Regions from separate parts of the Homo sapiens genome. Here region 2 is linked to region 1. The links are contacts of gene promoters, found by promoter capture Hi-C in human tissues and cell types (Jung and others, 2019). All regions are on one chromosome and are shown on one strand. The core of a region is centred on a gene start or on the middle of the fragment in contact, and the rest is flanking DNA. Distances in the headings are between cores, read along the strand shown. Region 1 holds the start of ATP12A (ATPase H+/K+ transporting non-gastric alpha2 subunit). Region 2 has its middle 37 kb from the start of ATP12A.

Region 1 (6,935 bases), core at 1,249-3,748:
CCTAAAGCACGTGAATTACAAAATCCTCATCTCATTTTTTCCCCTCATAGACCCCAGCAAATTATTTATTTCCCATTTTACATAAAGGAAATGGACCTTCAGTGAGGGTCAGTCATTTGTTGCCAGTTTCAGCTCAGTGGAGAAGTGGGACTCTGATGGGGCCCGAGGTCCTCCCAATCCAAGCTCCACATTTTTACCACTGAAACTGCTTTTCCATGAGGTTTCACACCTGCAATCTAGCATGGCCTAGGGGCTTTGGTTTTCCTCCTCAGAAGTTCCAGCTCAAATAGTTTTACTAATCAATTGAAAACTGGCAAGTGGTTACTTAACTCTCACTGAAGCAGCTGCGGGGAGAGAGGTCTGGCCATGCCTGTGGGGCCTGGAATCAGAGGCTCTTCCTTCTGAGTTCTACAGGGACTGCCTCCAACCAGAATGCAGGAATCCTGCAGAGGCCCTGACCTCTGGGTGGATACTATCACACCATTCAAAACACACACACACACATACACACACCACACACCACACACACACCACACACCACACATATACACCACACACTACACACACACCACACGCTACACACACACCACACATACCATGCACATACACACACCACACATACACACCACACACTACACACACACCACACGCTACACACACACCACACATACCATGCACATACACACACCACACACACCACACACATATATACCACACACATACACACACCACACACATACACACACCACACACACACCACACACATATACACACCACACACACACACCACACACACATCACACACACATCACACACACCACACATACACACACCATACACACACACCATACACACACACCACACACATACACACACCACACACTACACACACCATATACACACACCACACACCATACACACACACCACACACCATACACCACACACCACACATACACACACACACCACACACTACACAGACACACCACACATACACACACACCACACATACACCACACACACACACCACACAGACACACCACGCAGACACCACACACCACACACAATCTCAAGGGGATTTCAAATCCCTCAGACTGAATGTCTGTGGTAAGAGGTGGGTTCTAGGGGCAAGCTCTTGCGGGGAAGGGCCATAGCCGGCAGGACCCCGTGGCTTAAGGCTACTGACCAGATGGAGTTCTTTCTGAAACTCCTCTTTGTGATTTTTCTTTTTGAGTTCCAGGCAGTTGTTCTTCAGACCCCTATACTTCTCCTTGCCATCCCCCTTGTCTGTTTTCACGATGTCCTTAGTTCCGCTGAGCTCCACGGAGTAAATTTCTGGGGTTTTCTGAAAGAGAAGCCCAGGTGCAATATTGGCCCCAAATGGGGTTTCCGAAGAGGTGCTGAGCGCCCCTCTGCGGGGTCAGGACCTGCAGGAGTCAGGAGCCCCTTCTCCCTTTCCTTCCCTCCTCTGGGGAGGCCGGAGGGAGTCGGACAGTGGAGTCTCTCCCCCACCTCCCGCCGACCTTGGCTTCCTCTCCGTCCGTGTAGAGGGGAGGCGGGGTGGGCACAGGCCAGCCAGCAGCTCCTCAGGGTGACCCTTCTCTGGGTGGAGCAGGTGGGAAGTTACCCCCCCAACTCCTGACTGATGCCTCCAAGGAGCTGTGAGGTTTCCTTAGAACCTCGAGGTTCCTTAGGCACCTCGAGGTTTCCTCTGAGGTGTCCTTCCCAGGGGACACAACAGCTGTGCGTCCTGTTTCTTGGGGAGGAGGCACCCACTAAGCTTACGACCCTCAGTCCTGATCAGGGGGCCCTAACCGGAAGTCTTTTCAGACCGCAACGAATCCATGTCACCCCATCCTCCGAGTCGGAGCCCGCAGGTGCCATGGAGCTGGCCTAGGACCCCTTGGCCCCTTCTCGCTCCTCTGGACTGGCTTCTTTCCCCAGCCAGCCCCGGCGGCCGCACGGAGCCGTGGCGGGGAGTCAGAGAAGCGGTGCCCAGGCCGGGGGGCGCTCAGAGGAAAGGCGGCCTCCCCTTGCCCCGGGACGGGGCGTTTCTCCTCTTCGCCTTTTCCTCGCTTCCCGTCAGCCTGCTCCGGTCCCCGGGGCCTTGGCCCAGCGTCTCGCATCCTCGGCCGGCGCGGGGGCTGCACGCACCTGGTGCATGCTGGGCTGGTGGCGCCGCGGGCTGCGGGCGTGGAGCGCGGATCCGGGACCGCAGCGGCGGAGCGCACGGTGGGGGGCCTCGTGTGGCTGTGGCAGTGGCAGTGGCTGAGGTGTTGGCGGTGGAGATACCGGCGGCGGCGCGGGCCCTGCACGCACCTCCGCGGCCGATCGCCAGCCGCTGCACCGGGGAGGTGGCACCAGCCTTAAATGCCGCCCGCCCCGCCCACGTCCCCGCCAGGGCGCAGGCCAGCGGACGCCTCGGAGGGTAGGAAACCCGCCGGCGCGCGCGCAGGGAGGGGGACCGACAGCTAGGGGTCGGGAGAGTCCAGGATTGAGGACCCCCTGGGAATCCCCTTCCCTTTAGTAGCCGAACGCCAGGGGGCGGGGTCTCTAGGGGGCGGGTCCGGCATCCAGGTGAGTACAGCCCTGGTTCCGCTGGGCGCCCAGAGCCGGACCAGCTGCTCCGGCGAGCTCCCGGCACGCCCACGTCCTGTCCAGGCTTCCCTGAAAACCCACACATGCCTTTTTTTAAAAATGTAATTTGCCTACCAATAAATCAATTTATAAAAATGTGTATGCAGAGAAGGGGAAATTGCAGTTTCTAACAGCAACTACTGTTGGAGATGTCCCGGCTAGAAAAGGCCAATGTGTTTTTGAGAATGGATTTAGATAGGTAAATTCAAGCTTCCGAGAGAATTTGGGAATAACTGAGAGACTCTGAAGAGTAGCTGAATTAATTTGCCGGATCCAGATAAGAATTTGGAATTCTGAAACAATTTGGAGAGGGAATGGGGAGGAGAGATGAGAGGATTAGGGTCGGTGAGACCACAGGAACCTGGGGCCCCAGGCTGCGGGTGCGCAGGAGCGGAGGCTGTTGGCTGGACTGGGCTGGAGAGGTCTGTCTCCACCTATTTATGTCACTCCCAGCTGAGACTCTATACATGAAGGAGAAAAGAATTTCTGACCCTGAAAGTTGATGTGCATACTAAAGCAGTGGTTGTTTTATACTGCTAAGTTTGGGTTGGTTTGTTATGCAGCAATAGATAACTGGGACATGCTCCATGCTCTTAGTGCCCAGCATGAGTTTTTGCACAGGATAGAAAAGGTATTTTCCCCCTGACACTTGAAACATAATTACTCCAGATGAGAAAGATAGCCTGAAAACAATATATCAGAGAGATATTTAGCAGTTAACAGTGGAGGAAATCAAACACGTTCTTTTAAAAGAATGAATCGTGAAGTCTTAAAGTCAGTGAAGAATATTAATTAATGGAGAGGAACATAAAAAATAAAACCCACGAATAGAGTTTAGTAATCAGCACCTATTTAGAAGAACAATAAGAAATTGACATGATTGAAATATATGAAAGGGAGTAGAGATAAGTTTCAAAAGAGGGGGCACTTTATTGGGCCCTTGATGCTCTGCTAATAAGTTTCCATTTAGATAAGGACTAATAGGAGGGTGCTAAGTTTTATTCTTTTTGAAAGTTATATATCAAATATGGTAAGAAAGATTGTCATTTTGACCATATTTAAAATGACTAAGAGTGAGGAGTCCAGAGAAGCAGCAAAAGTAACAATCCCATCATGCAGTGACTAGAACATCTGGCAGAAAACATGAAGAGCATTGGGTACATTTAGAAAAGGTAGAAGAAAAACAATAAGCTTGTGCCCGGCCGGGCGCGGTGGCTCACGCCTGTAATCCCAACGCTTTGGGAGGCCGAGGCGGGCGGATCACGAAGTCAGGAGATCGAGACCATCCTGGCTAACACGGTGAAACCCCATCTCTACTAAAAATACAAAACAATTAGCCGGGCATGGTGGTGGGCGCCTGTAGTCCCAGCTGCTCGGGAGGCTGAGGCAGGAGAATGGCATGAACCCGGGAGACGGTGGAGCTTTCAGTGAGTGGAGATCGCGCCACTGCACTCCAGCCTGGGCGACAGAGCGAGACTCTGTCACAATAAAAAAATTAAAAAAAAAATAAGAAAAAAAAGCTTGTGCCCAATTCTAATTAGGAATTAATTATAACTTCCTGTTCCTTTCAGATGCTAAATTTCCATAATAATTTCAGAGCATGACTATAGTTGGTGGTGAGGGACAATTGGGAAAAGAAGCTTATTTTGAGGGAATTTGAAGTGTTAGCAGTTAGAGACGTGGTTTTGTAAAGTAGCAGTAGAGACAAAGATACTTTCTCATGGCATATTTGTGATCTTAGATTTTCCACACCTCTCTGTTCATCATGGCTTTCAAATGAGACTAAGGGAATGTGTTGTACCCGACATAGTGAACTGTCTCCATAGTGCTGCACACATAGGTCTTTCCCCGCTCTCCCTCCTTCTTCCGTTCCAAAAGGGCAGAATCTGAAGCCTGGGTTCCTCCCTCTGTGAAGCAAGGATGACAGCAATGAGTCACTTCTTAACTAAAATGATAAGGGACAGGAAGACTCCTAGTGGCATCTGGTGTAAAGATACACATCATGGATTCTCTAGAGTTGGAGGGAACATTAAATTCTAGTCCAAACCCAAGCAACAGTGTGCTTCTGGGGAGCTCTGGGTTCCATTCTTGGAATACTCTTCAAAGGAAAGGTTTGCAGATGGGGTGAGAAATACAAAATGTGTACGAAACTGATGTTCCACTGTCTGCTGATAATCCAAGCTAAGGGTTTTTTGGGAACAGGTGGCTGCTGCTCACCTTAAGCTGTTCCAGCCCCTGCTCCAACTATTGGGACAGATGTAGAATAGAGAAGCAGGGTCCGCAGAGAGATGTCTCTGAGCTCAAGGCCAGTTCAAGCTCCAAAAGCAAACTCAGATCCTAGGGACTTGACTGAGGGATGGGGAGCGGGGAGGGGAAGTGGGCTAAAAAGAGATGGTGACACAGCTTTAGAAAGTACTAACTGATGGCACCCTCCCTTGATCCTTGGAGAAGATTGCCGCTTTTTTTTTTTTCTTAAGACGGTCTTGCTCTGTTGCCCAGGATGGAGTGCAGTGTGATTACAGCTCACTGCAACTTCCGCCTCCTGGGCTCAAGCCATTCTCCCACCTCAGCCTCCTGAGTAGCTGGGACTACAGGCACAGCTAATTTTTGTGGTTTTTTTTGGTACAGAAGGGATTTCACCATGTTGCCCAGGCGGGCCTCCAACTCCTGGGCTCAAGCGATCCGCTCACCTCTGCCCCAGAAATACTGGGATTACAGGTGTGAGCCATTGAGCCCAAGATTGCTGCTTATTCCTTTTGGTATCAAGGGTGGAAGACGGTTTATTACTACAAGCAGGACAAAAACATTTCCATGGTCAGGTTCTCTGGCACCTCTCTGATCCTGCAGAGTTCTTGGCTTCTGCCAGGGACTAGTCTCAGCTGTCACTGCTATGGCCCTTGTGGCAGCCTCTGGTGCCATTCAGGTGTCCTGGAGTGTTGACTTCTACCAAAGAAGGAAAATGGGGCCATTCCCCAACCCTAACTCCAGAATCGTGTCCTTTGCTGCCTCTAGTCATCTGGATACCCGACTCTGCCTTGAGGTGGGTAGGCCCTGGGTAACTGTGATGCAGGCATCTGGAGGCACTTACCTGTAGAATCAGGAATTGGATTTCTCCTGAGACACGTTCGGTCCCAGGGCCATCACCCACAATGTTCTGAGCAATGTACCCTGATCCCACCCAGTGCAAATGGCTCCTAGAGGGTTGGCCATAGAGGCCAGGCTGCAGCCGGGAGACTTCCTCAGCCCACATGTGCTAGTAGCAGCTTCTGCTTGAGGTTTTGCTGCTTTTCAAAACAAGCCTATCCACGCCAAGGTTCTCTATTATACCTGCTCATATTGACGAACATTATATATTTGGGATAGGATGTCATGATATATGTATTTTCAGCCTGTTTTAATTAAATTATATACTTCATGTATTTAAGCTGTACTAGATATAGGGGTGGTGGGGAGATATGGTACTAAAATCATGCCATCCTCTGCCCTCTAGGAAGTTGGACTTGAGTTGGAGAGACCAAATTAGTGAAGAACCAATAGTAAACGGGCCAAAAGGGAAAATAATTTAGCACTAACTGGTATGGGCTCTAAGTGCCTTCAGAGTTTAGAGGAAAGAGGTTTCTCTGGGGGAAATGGCATAACTTGTACTACTTAGGATTAGTTATTCAGATTTTTTTCCATCCCTTTGCACCCGCCAAGAAAGTGGGGAGAGAGTCTGGGAGAGCAGCTGAGTTGGGGCCTTGTGTGTGTGGCTTCCCTTGGGGACCCCAGGAGGTCCCTCCTGTGCGCAGGCTGGCCACCAGCTGGCTCAAAGAGGTGTGACTGTGAGGATCCCCACACGGAGCGGGAGGATCCAGATGACAATGGGAAGAGGAAGCTCCACTTCCTGCTTTGCGTCCGACTGGCCTGTCCCTCTGCTGCCCACTCGGCCTCTCCCTGTCCCTGGATTCCTCTCCTACACATGGGACAGTCCCCACCTGGAGCCCTCCCTACGCACCTGTATCCAGTCAGCACGACTGGCTGTGACTCGGCCAGTGTTCCTCTCCCGACGAGAGGAGGGCCGCCTGGGGTTGGAGCCAGGATGAAAAAACAAAACAAAGCTTCAGGCAAGCACGCTTCCACACTGTGTCCTCATTTCTTCATGCACAGGAAATCCTGAGATTGGCATATGAACATCCTCCAGAAAAGAAATACTGGCTTTTCAGAAATTAGCAAGTCAGCTCCAGTGATGATCCTGCCTGGAGCTGTAAACACCATGACTGATGGGAATCAGCAGTGGCGTTTCCAGAAGCAGGTGCGGGC
Region 2 (6,935 bases), core at 2,476-4,975, 37 kb after region 1:
AAACAATCAAGAAAAATCTGAAGTGGCCAGTAACATTAAAATACATTTATTAAAACTACAGGATATTGCAGGATCTGGCCAGCAGCCCACAGTGCAACGGGGCTTTTTCTTTGTTCCCAGGCGGATCGGCAGGTTGAGAAATAAAAGACACACACAAGATAGTGAAAGCTGGGTCCAGGGGGGTCACCGCCTTCTGGTCCTGCAATGCCGCCAATGCACTGGATATACCAGCATTTATTACTAAGTTTAGTGAGGGTGGGGGTCAGTTAGTGAGGGATTTAGGGTCGTTTGATTATGAGGTGAAATGGTCAAATGGGGATGAAGCAATTCTTTAACATAACATTGGTATGCAGAAGTACAGTATGCAGAGATGAGAATTTACAATATAGTGTGTGCGTCAGCAATTTCTAACAGAGCCTTAAAACAGAAACACAGTCTATCCATAACCTATGATTAGCCAATATTAATCAGCAGTAACAGTTGCAGCAAAAGCTGGTTGCAAACAATCCATAGAAACAGGACGTGAAGCTAGACAACCAGTTAGACCAAAAATTCTCAGAAGGGAGTATGCCTTAACCCTAAAGAGACCTGGAAGAGCTGTGGCAAGATGAGGGCATTTATAACCCTATCTTATCCATATGAACCGGTGCCCCTCATGTGTCTGTTTATAGGCTCTCCACAAGGGTTGCATTCCATTCCCAGAGCTATGAACATCTGCTTTTCTGGGATAGGAATCTTGGTGATGTGAAACCTCCCTGACTGCACGTCCATTCATAGGCTCTCTAGGGGGGAAGCACATCACGCTGTTGGCTCGTTCTGGCAGCCCAAACTGGCATTGTCTTTACACAATCCTGCAGGCAATTTTGTATTTACGATAATCAGGGGCATTTTATCTTTTATTCCGTAGCAATAGTTTCAGGGGGTCTCCCTACAACAGGACAATGAAAATATTGAAAAAAAAAAAAAAAAAAGACCATGCTGGGTGCAGTGGTTCATGCCTGTAATCCCAGCACTTTGGAAGGCTGAGATGGGAGGATGGCTTGAGCCCAGGAGTTCAAGACCAGCCTGGGCAACATGGAAAAACCCCATCCCTACAAAAAAAAAAAATTAGCTGGGCATGGTGGTGCATGCCTGTCCCAGTTACTGAGCTGGACCTGAGTCCCAGCTACTCAGGAGGCTGAGGTGGGAGGATCACTTGAGCCCAGGAGGCAGAGGTTTCAGTGAGCCGAGATCATGCCACTGCACTCCAGTCTGGGTGACAGAATGAGACTTTGTCTCAAAAAATAAAAATTAAATAACAATAATAAAAGAAAGATCAAAAATTATTTAGAACATACTGTATGGGAAACATGAATCATTCAATAAACGGTATAAGAAAAAATAGCTGTAGAATAAGCTAATTTTGATTCTCACCTCACTTCTGCTCAAACATATTTCAGATATGTTAAAATCACTATCAAAATACAACATAGCAAGCAAAATAAATCCAGAATTTTATTCAAAATAAAAAGAGCAATAGAGTTTATCTGAGGAGTGCAAAAAAAATCTTCAATGTAATCCATCACACTGGCAAATTAAAAGAAAAAATCATATTGTTATATCAGTAGATTTAGAAAATTCACTCAAATATCCCAACTCTGCTTATGATAAATAATCTTTAATTTATTAAAAGTGTATTGCCTCAAAACCTATAGCAAACTTCACACTGAATAGTGAAATCTTAAAAGAGGCTCATTAAAATCAGACACAAACATCCCTGTTATCACCTCCACAGTTTAATATTACACTGGGGATTCTGGCCGATGTAAAATTTATACTGTCAGATGAAATATCTATAAGGAAAATCCAAGAGAATCTCATTATGAACTGTAACTACTATTAAGTGAGCTCAACAGTTTGTTGGATAGATCCTTTACAAATTCAACAATAAAAGATATTTGGAAAATCCCCAAATGTTTTAAAATTAAGTAACACATTTCTTATATAACCATGGGTAAAAGAAGACATCACAAGAGAAATTAGAAAGTATTTTGTACCAATAAAAATGAAAATAAAAACATATCATTTGTCACAAAAATGTACATGAAATGTATATGCTGTATTATAGCAAATAATACAGCATATTAAAATCAGAATCAGTGACTCCATAGCACTTGGGTTTGAGGTCGAGTTGGGAACCATGTGCGGTGATGGAGACATTCTGTATTGTGACTGAGGTGCTGGGCCATATGGGTGTATATATTTGTCAAAACTCACCTGGCTCAGTGTGGTGGCTCATGCCTGAAATCCCAACACTTTGGGAGTCCAAGGCAGGAGGACTGTTTGAGTCCAGGAGTTTGAGACCAGCCTGGGCAACATAGTGACACCTTGTCTCTACAAAAAATAGAAAAAATTAGCTTAGCTGGGCATGGTGGCATGCACCTGTAGTCCCAGCCACTCGGGAGGCTGAGGCAGGAGGATTGCTTAAGCCTGGGAGGTTGAGGCTACAGTGAGCTGTGTTTGCAGCACTATACTCCAGAAAGGGTTCTTGAATCTCATGCAAGAAAGAATTCAGAGCGAGCCCATAGAGTAAAGCGAAAGCAACTTATTGGAAAAGTAAAGGAATAAAGAATGGCTACTCCATAAGGCAGAGCAGCCCCGAGGGCTGCTGGTTACCCATTTTTACAGTTATTTCTTGGTTATATGCTAAATAAGGGGTAGATTATTCATGCCTTCCCCTTTTAGACCATATGGTGTAACTTCATGACATTGCCATGGCATTTGTAAACTGTCATGGCGCTGGGGGGAGTGTAGCAGTGAGGATGGCCAGAGGTCACTCTCATGGCCATCTTGGTGTTGATGGGTTTTAGCTGGCTTCTTTACTGCAAACTGTTTTATCAGCAGGGTCTTTATAACCTGTATCTTGTACTGATCTCCTATTTCATCCTGTGACTTAGAATGCCTTAACTGTCTGGGAATCCAGCCAAGTAGGTCTTGGCCTCATTTTACCCAGCCCTTATTCAAGATAGAGTTGCTCTGGTTCACATGCCTCTGACAGTTGTGTAATTCAGTTGGTTATAATGAAGAGGAAATTATAATAGTCTTTGTAGAGATGGGTCTTTGATACTTAAAAGTACACTAATACAAAACTAAATAGTCAAATCAATATTTTATTACAAATATTTGACTTTTAATGCATGAAGTTTTTAAACTTTAACATTCTATCATCTGTCTTTAACATTCTTCAGATTGATAGCTCAGAAGTTCAACTCTTTCTCTTGTGAAAAGGCAAGGCCTTGAATGGTAGCTTTCTTCTTTACCTTTTGTTGTCTGCTGTTACTTTTATTAACTGTCTAAAATAAGTGAGATAATTTTCTTGAAAATTGGCAAATAAAATATCTTTTGAAACTGCCTTTTTATTCTGCATGCTTTTTATATCTCTATCTTTATTTGTGTCATGGGGAAGTGATATTTTACTACCAAACTACATGAAAGAGCTCTAATCAAGTAACTTAAAAAATGTTAAGTGCTTATCAGATTGGTAGAAGCTAGCTCAGATGCCTTTTAATTCACATGACTTGGTAATCTTCGGTAAAATAAACTTGGTAAATTTAATCTTAAAACTCTCCCCAGTAATTTAAAATTTTAAAGTCATGTTAAAAACCTGTTTTTTTCCCCCACTGGAAATTTGGGTTACTAAAATTTAAAATAGTTGGAGCGTAAAATATGCTTTTGGCAAAATTTTATAAAACACAAGGATGTCAATTTTCAAAAAAATGTAAGTTTTTTGGTTAAGAAACTAAGAGTAGCTTTATAATGAAAGAGAATTATACAGATAAAACTAAATGGATTAAAAAAGAAAGCAAGCCAGGGCAACAAAAGTTAAATCTGAACCCTGTGGTAAAGCCAAGTAATCATTAAAAACCAGAGGGCATAATGTAAATTGTTCCATTTTGTAGACTGGTATCATTCGGCTTCTTTAAAAAATCTTTAGTGGATTGTAAAAGCCACCACTTTTAAGGACAAAATTATTCATTTTAAATGCTACAGAATTTAAGAGCGTGTTTGGATTAATACAGGACCCACAGCTCACTACTGAACAATCACTGATGAGTATATGTGATCCAAATGAACAGAAGGTTATTCCTGAGAAAAGAATCAGCCTAGTGGACTGGATAAATCCAGTAAGGTCTGTTTGCCCTGAGAAGGGGACTGCCCAACTCTCTCTATAAAATACCAAGTGAAGCACCCCAGGTGAAGCATTAACATGCTTCATATGCAAGCCATGTTGGACTGGCTTTATGATAACTGAGGTATCTTCCCACCAAATATGCCTACTACTCAAGGTCATGGTAAATTTGGGGGTTAAGGGGCCCCCTTTTACATGAGTGCCCCTTGCACAGAATCATAGGACTGTTTAAGAAGCCTTATCCAATTTGCTGTCCCTCACAGGTCTTACAGACACAACTCCCTGCTGGGAACCCAAACTCTTTTCACCAGAAAAGGTAAAATAGACTGGGGGTGTAAAAGGGTTCCTGGGACCCGAACATAAAAACATAGAGTTTAATAGAATTATACAATTTATGATGTTTAAACAAGCTTTATGTAAGGTAGTTGTAACCCCTTTTACCTAAATGTCTTATGAAAATGGGTACTATGTCTAACTGGGGGACGTTTTCCTTTTCCTAGTACTGTAAAACTGAGGGCATGTAAATCTGCTCTTCTAGGAAATGTTATTTGAACACACTAAATAGGAACTAGTAAAATCGTCTAAGCCCACAAAGTATAGGGTAGGAGCTGGAGTGCTAATCGGGACAAATCCTCCACTGCGTAGCCCTTTGAGTGGAACATTTATCGGGGCCGATGACAAAGATCATGAGTACTTTTCAATGACAATGACTGAATTAGAGAATTTCCACTTGTTGGGGCATTTATTGCCTTGCCATGAAATATTAACTGAAGCTACCCCTATGCTAATAGAAATAATATTTCCCCAAAGAGTTCTGTGATAAAATAAAAATGGTTTACATAAAATCTTGCTACCTAATAAGAAGAGAGCCTCTTTCCTAGAACTAATTGTGAGGAGCTACTAAATGCTACAGTGCCTGATAGACAGCTCTCATGAGCTGTTTTGTTTGTAATTGGCATTTCCAAGGTAAACAAGCATCTGGTTTTAAAGCTGCTGCTCTGGTTAAAGAAAGGTTAAGAAAATCTTTCTTTTTCTTTTAAGCTATTTGGCTAAAGTATGTTTATTTTTTATTTTGTCTTTTTTGGGGGAGGAGTAAATTGTGTTTTTGTAAGCAAACTTACCTTTTGGGTTCACCAAAATTCAGATTGTAATTTTGTGACGATATAGTTGTCCGCATAAGTTCAATAAGAGTTTAAAAAAAAAAAAAATTGGAGGCACCGGTTATTTTTCCAAGACTTAAACTAAAATAGCGTATTGTTAGGTATAGTTCCAGCAAAGCCAACTCAAAAGGAGTATATATGGCCAATGAATTCTTGCTGCATTTTATGCAAATAACCATGCAAGCATAATAAACCTAAAACTTGCCTGGCACACAAATTGGTGTTGCTATAATTTCTCTTTAATTAAAAAAAAAAAGCAGCTAGAGAAGCTTGTTTCAAGGGAAAAGTGTAACACTTAATACTAGATTTCAGCCCTAACTTTTTTTGAATGCAGATTAAGTCATTTCTTGGCTACAATAATCCTATAGAGAGTACCAGATTATAATTTTTCTTCATATCTTTAGTTGGTACCCTAATAGAAGAGGTTTCTTTTTCTGTTCTGACATACAAATACTTTTTTTTTTTTTTTAAGATGGAGTCTCGCTCTGTCACCCAGGCTGAAGTGCAATGGTGTGATCTCAGCTCACCGCAACCTTTGCCTCCTGGCTTCAAGCGAGTCTCCTACCTCAGCCTCCTGAGTAGCTGGGACTACAGTCACTCGCCATCATGCTCACCTAATTTTTGTATTTTTGTAGAGACAGAATTTCACCATGTTGGCCAAGCTGGTCTTGAACTCCTGACCTCAGGTGATCCACCCGCCTCAGCCTCCCAAAGTGTTGGGATTACAGGCGTGAGCCACTGCATCCGGCCACAAATTACTCTTATAATTGTCAAACTAGAAGTGTTATTTATCTCTCCTTGTTTTACTTCCACAGAGACCAAAATCATGGTATTCTGAAGACCAGAGATATGAATCTCCCTCATGTGGCACCCCACTGGGCCGGAATCTGTTTCACTGCTGATACTCTGCTGCTAAGACTATAGACAAGCAGCCTCCCTTTTTAGGCCCAGGTACTATCGTGGAGGAGATGGGTGCATTAGACTGTAAGGGCTGGTTTTGAGGGATAAAATTAGGTCAAGGTCAAACCCTCCAAACCAAGAAGGGGTACAAAAATGCCTAAACAGCTGGTAAAACAAGTTTAGTTGCCTCCCAAAGTATGATGTGCTACTGTTGCATCCACCCCTACCATAAAAATTTTCTGCTTACGATAGAATTAAAGAAAAATATTTACTAACAGGATAAAAATACCTCGGAACAAAGCCTACTGGGTATAATACTTCAAATTATGAGTTGTAAAGATAAATATATCTATATCTATATATATACATATTTTCAATTATTTTTCAGAACAAGGCTTAGGTTTTGTATAGCTGATTGCTATAAGTCTGTAACAAAAACCAAGCTTACAGTAACTCAACACATAGAAGTTAAAAATAAGTCAGTCTTGTAACTTTGCCTTTTGGTTTTGTTTGTCAGCTTTTTTTTTAACTTAAAATAATAATTTTTAGACGTAATGAATGCCTGTCCACATCCACTCCTATCTGGCCTAGAACAATTAATTGGCTATAAGTCTTTTGACTCTTAGGCCCTCAGTCACAGAGAGTCCCGCTGAGGGACAAGAAAATGACACCATAGAATTATGTGACTTCTGTGACAAAATTTCCTT

What was found. The method cuts DNA at HindIII sites, captures the fragments that hold promoters and counts their contacts. A contact is called where the count stands out against the background at its distance.
Region 2: a contact is called between a fragment that was not itself captured here and the fragment with the promoter of ATP12A in region 1, in 2 of the 25 tissues and cell types used here (H1 embryonic stem cells and mesendoderm cells).

Annotation. Positions count from the first base shown.
Region 1 is chr13:24,675,971-24,682,905 of GRCh38, reverse strand. It overlaps ATP12A (ATPase H+/K+ transporting non-gastric alpha2 subunit), which reads right to left and starts at 2,498. Exons shown (of 23, transcript NM_001676.7): 1 at 2,154-2,498; 2 at 1,186-1,344. The coding sequence starts at 2,162. RefSeq lists enhancers at 1-267, 367-947 and a silencer at 2,141-2,450. The HindIII fragment of the contact is 3,620 bases long and covers 1-3,337 here.
Region 2 is chr13:24,640,274-24,647,208 of GRCh38, reverse strand. No RefSeq gene overlaps it. Among named protein-coding and RNA genes, the nearest start is that of ATP12A, 37 kb to the left of the region's middle. The HindIII fragment of the contact is 4,818 bases long and covers 1,317-6,134 here.